Regions from separate parts of the Homo sapiens genome. Here region 1 is linked to region 2. Evidence: promoter capture Hi-C in 16 types of primary human blood cells and fetal thymus (Javierre and others, 2016). All regions are on one chromosome and are shown on one strand. Each heading gives the region's core, a stretch centred on a gene start or on the middle of the fragment in contact. The rest is flanking DNA. Distances are from core to core; before and after follow the strand shown. Region 1 has its middle 180 kb from the start of OR4A47. Region 2 holds the start of OR4C5 (olfactory receptor family 4 subfamily C member 5).

Region 1 (2,700 bases), core at 110-2,609, 300 kb after region 2:
CAAATGCTTTTCAGCAAATGTCCATTCAGCAAATGAGAAACTGCTTTTTCATGTGTGCATTCATCTCATGGAGTTAAACTTTCTGCAGATTCAGCAGCTTGCAAACACTGTTTTTGTCCATTCTGCAAATGGACGTTTGGGAGCTCATTGAAGGCAATGGCAAAAAACCAAGTATCCCAGGATAAAAACTGGAAGAAAAATATCTGAGAAACTGCTTTGTGATATGTGCATTCACCTCACAGCAATAAACATTTCTTTTCATTCAGCAGTCTGGAATCACTATTTTGGAAGGATTTGTGAAGTGATATTTGGGAGGGTATTGAGGACTATGGTTAAAATGGAAATATCTTCAGATAAAAACTAGAAATAAGCTTTCTGAGAAAGTGCTTAGTCATCTGTCCATTCATCGCACAGAGTTAAGCCTTTCTGTAGACTCAGAAGTTTGCAAACACTGTTTCCCCATTCTGCAAATGGACATTTGGGAGCTCATTGATGCCAATGGCAAAAAAATGAATATCCCAGGAAAAAAACTAAAAGGAAGCTACCTGAGAAACCCGTTTTGTGATGTGTGAATTCATCTCTATGACTTCACTCCACAGTTTGGAAACACTGTGTTTGTAGAATCTTTGAGTTTATACTTGGGAGTGCATTTTACGAGAAACTGCTTTGTGATGTGTACCTTCATCTCACAGAGGTAATCCTTTCTGTGGATTTAGCAGATTGAAAACACTGTTTTTGCCCCTTCTGTGAATGGACATTTGGGAGCTCATTGAAGCCAATGGTGAAAAAGCCAATATCCCAGGAAAAAAACTAGAAGGAAGCTATCTGAGAAACCGCTTCATGATGTGTGCATTCATCTCACAGAGTTAAGCCTTTCTTTTCATTCAGCAGTCTGGAAACACTGTTTTGTCAGAATCTGTGAAGGGATATTTGGGAGCTAAATGAGGCATATGGTGAAAAAGGAAATATCTTCAGATAAAAACTAGAAATAAACTTTCTGATAAACTGCTTTGTGCTGTGTGCATTCATCTCACAGAGTCAAAGCTTTCTTTGGATTCAGCAGTTTGTAAACACAGTTGTTGTAGAATCTGCAAAGTGGTATTTGGGAGCTTAATGAGGCAAATGGCAAAAAAGAGAATAACCCAGAAAAAAATATAGTAGGAAGCTATCTGAGAAACAACTTTGTGATGTGTGAATTCACATTTCAGAGTCAAAACTTTCTTTTCATTATGCAGTTTGGAAACACTGTTTTTGTAGGGTCTGCGAAGGGATATCTGGGAGTGCATTGAGGCCTATGGTGAAAAAGGAAATATCTTCAGATAAAAACAAGAAAGAAGCTAACTGAGAAACTGCTTTCTGATGTGCGCATTCATCTTATGGAGTTAAAATTTCTGTGGATTCAGCAGATTGCAAACACTGTTTTTGTCCATTCTGCAAATGGACATTTGGGACCTCATTGAAGCCCATGGCAAAAAAGTGAATATCCCAGGATAAAAACTGGAAGGAAGCTATCTGAGAAACTGCTTTGGATGTGTGCATTTGCCTCACAGCAATAAACCTTTCGGTTCATTCAGTCGTCTGCAAACACTGTTTTGGAAGTATCCACAAAGGGATATCTGGGAGTGCATTGAGGCCTATGGTGAAAAAGATAATATCTTTGGATAAAAACTAGAAACAAGCTTTCAGAGAACCTGCTTTGTGATGTGTGCATTCCTTTCACAGAGTTAATTCTTTCTGTGAATTCAGCAGTTTACAATCAATGTTTTTGTCCATTCTGCAAATGGATATTTGGGAGCTCATTGAGGCCAATGGCAAACAAGGGACTATCCCAGGATAAAAACTAGAAGGAAGCCCTGTGAGAAACTGCATTGCGATGTGTGCATTCATCTTGAACGGCTAAACCTTTCTTTTCATTCAGCAGTTTGGAAGCACTGTTTTCATAGAATCTGCACAGGGAAATTTGGGAGCTCACTGAGGCCTGGGGTGAAAAAGGAAATACCAGACAAAAACTAGAAAGAAGCTTTCTGAGAAACTGCTTTGTCATGTGTGCATTCATCTCACAGAGTTAAAATTTCTGTGGATTCTGCAGTTTGCAAATTCTGTTTTTGTCCATTCTGTGAATGGACATTTGGGAGCTCATTGAGGCCAAGGGCAAAATAGTGAAATTCCCTGGACAAAAACTAGAAAGAAGCTATCTGAGAAACTGCTTTGTGCTGTGTGCATTCAACTCGCAGAGACAAACCATTGTTTTCATTTAGCAGTTTGGAAACACTGTTTTTTGTAGAATCTGCAAAGTTATATTTATGAACGTATTGAGGACTATGGTTAAAAAGGAAATGTTTTCAGATAAAAACTAGAAAGAAACTTTCTGAGAAAGTGCTTAGTGATCTGAGCATTCATCTCACCGAGTTAATCGTTTCTGTGGATTCAGCAGTGTGCAAACACTGTTTTTGCCCATTCTGCAAATGGATATTTGGGAGCTCATTGAGGCCAATGGCAAAAAAGTGAATATCCCAGGATAAAAACTAGAATGAAGTTTTTGAGAAATAGCCTCGTGATGTGGGCATTCATCTCACAGAGTTAAATCTTTCTTTTCATTCAGCAGCTTGGAAGCACTGTTTTTGTAGAATCTGTGAAGTGATATCTGGGAGGACATGGAATCCTATGGCGTAAAAGGAAATTTCTTCAGATAAAAACCAT
Region 2 (2,700 bases), core at 46-2,545:
ATACCGAAGCTTTGCAGATAATTATTCTACTAAACACATAAACTCATGGGTTTTCCATACACTGTAACATTTTTATGTTGACTAGCAATGTCCCCCTGATTAATAATTTGTAAATGTGAAGAAGTTTCAAATTGGCAGAAACATTAGTCATCATTTAATCAGATATTGATCTTTTATGAAAAGGCATCATTAAAGATTCCAGAAAATGAGGGGAATAAAATATACTTAAACTCACTATTCTGACCTCAAGACCTTTACCCTTTTCATTAGTCATACCTGTTGTTAAAATATGAGTAGGTTCTGTGTTTATCTTCTCTAATCACACAAATTGTTACCCCAGATTATTTGGCTCCAGAGCTGCTTCATGGCATTTTTCACCTCTGTGTTTCTGAGGGTGTAGATTAAAGGGTTTAACATGGGTGTTACCACAGTATAAAACACAGACACAGCTTTATCAATAGGGAAGGTGATCATGGGTCGAAGGTACACCAATATACAGGGAACAAAGAATAGGACGACTACAGTGATATGGAAGGCGCAGGTAGAGAGAGCCTTCCGCTGTGAGCAGAGGATTAGGACGTAAGAGGTAATAAGAATAGAAAAAATGAGCATACACATCAGCCCACTGTTGGCGGCAACAAAGAGTCCAAAGACGTGAGTGTCAGTGCAGGAGAGTTTTAGCAGAGGGAAAAGGTCACAGATGAAATGGTCAATGACATTGGGGCCACAGAAGGGCAGCCAGACTATTAAAAGCATTTGAATCAGAGCGTGAAGAAATCCCCCGACCCATGCCATGGCCACCAGGAGGCCACATACCTGCCTGTTCATTGTGATCAGGTAGTACAGGGGCTTGCAGATGGCCACATAGCAGTCATAGGCCATCACCACGAGCAGAATGATCTCAACTCCCCCAAAGAAATGTTCTACAAAGAGCTGGGTCATGCACCCACTGAAGGAAATAGTTTTCTTTTCAGTGAGTAAGTCAAATATCATTTTGGGGGCCATGGTAGAAGAGGAGCAGCCATCTATGAAGGAAAAGAAAGACAGAAAAAAATACACGGGGGAGTCCAGGGCTGGGCTGGTGGTGATTGTCACCACAATGATTAGGTTGTCTACCATGGTGAGAAAGTAGATGAGTGTAAACACAGCAAACAAGAGTTTCTGTGCCTCTGCGTTCTGTGTCAGGCCAAGCAAGATGAATTCCGTTATGTTGTTCACTTGCTCGAAATCCAGTTTGGTATTTGGATAATTGATTTTTCTGTGAATAGCACAAGGATTGCAATTTGACACATACATTTTGAACAATAAAATAATTTTGGTCAGGATTATTTTCTGTAACACTGATGGAATCCCTAAATCTATAAACCCAAGACTAAGTTGAGCTATGTTATTCATGACATAATGAACACAGATACCTCTTCTCTCTCATACAGAGACACACACAGACACAGAAAAACACATACACACATTCATTTATGTACACAAACATGATTTTATGATGTTGACATGTCAGGCATTTTTCCTATGATTGTACATGGATGGATATTCTCTCAATCACCCTTACAGCATTTTTTTCCCCATAGAAAAACAGCAGTAAAAAGAGGAGGAGCAGAGGCTTGAATTCCTGTCAATTTCCTAGTTTCTTTTTTTTTTCGTTTTTTTTTTTTTTTTAACCACTCATGTTCATGAGGCTACGGTGCAGAGTTTGTTATTCTGGTTATTTTTAACTTGTTTCAGGGTAACTATAAAACATCAGGTGAGTTCACTTTGAAATTAAGGATGATGCCACCACATTTCAGAATCAACTGAACTGAGTGAATGTTTGAGGCTGCAGTAAGATACTCCATGGCAGTTAGATTTGAGAATTTATGCCACATCCAAACAGAATTGTCTAAGAATACAATCAAACACTTCTGGAAGCATATCCTGGAAGAGGATAAAACAGCATGATGCAAGGCAGCATTCCCCAGATGTATCTGAAACTTTAGAATTCACTTGGAGAACTGTCATGTTTAGAATTCAGGGCATTTTGCAAATCAAAACCCAATTTAAGGATGACTATGAAAAATTATATGGATCTGTTTAGAAAACATAATTTTAAGGTGAGGGAAAAAAAGCACCATAATTTATTGGACAGAGTGTTTTTTAGAATCAGATGCCTAATTTTTACATTTTATCTTCACTGACTATTAGCCACATGATATTGTGTACAGATCTTAGTCTCATTGTGCCTAAACTTTTTCATATATAAAATGGGAAAAATAACAAATGGAATGGAGGAACTAAAGAATATCATGATTAAATATATCAAGCTTTGTATCCTAAAGGTAAACCTATAGCTTACCATGTACTCCACATCTTGATAAAGAACACAAGTAAACAAAATTTTGCATATAATTATTTTTATCTTTAAGTTATTTATCATTGTAATATTAAGAGAGAAAATAAATGAACTCAGTACTCAACTCAAGGTAAATAACAAGCAATTATATTCAGAAAAAAAGGTGTAACACAGAAAGACATCAGGCAATAAAAAATTAGACTTGATAACTAAATTAAAAAGCTTTTTGATATTTTAAAAATACAAAGAAAACTGAAGAATAGAAATGAGCTCAATAAGAAACAAATATGGTAATACCACCAAAGGATATTATTTGTGAATAATATTTAGAAAGGTATTATGTGTAGCTCATAAAAGAT

The links. The method cuts DNA at HindIII sites, captures the fragments that hold promoters and counts their contacts. A CHiCAGO score of 5 or more calls a contact.
Region 1: a fragment that was not itself captured here is called in contact with the fragment with the promoter of OR4C5 in region 2 in 1 of 17 cell types (fetal thymus); the score reaches 5.0 in fetal thymus.

Annotation. Positions count from the first base shown.
Region 1 is chr11:48,666,578-48,669,277 of GRCh38, forward strand. No RefSeq gene overlaps it. Among named protein-coding and RNA genes, the nearest start is that of OR4A47, 180 kb to the left of the region's middle. The HindIII fragment of the contact is 635 bases long and covers 1,043-1,677 here.
Region 2 is chr11:48,365,170-48,367,869 of GRCh38, forward strand. It overlaps OR4C5 (olfactory receptor family 4 subfamily C member 5), which reads right to left and starts at 1,296. Exons shown (of 1, transcript NM_001348223.2): 1 at 316-1,296. The coding sequence starts at 1,296. The coding sequence ends at 316. The HindIII fragment of the contact is 2,303 bases long and covers 8-2,310 here.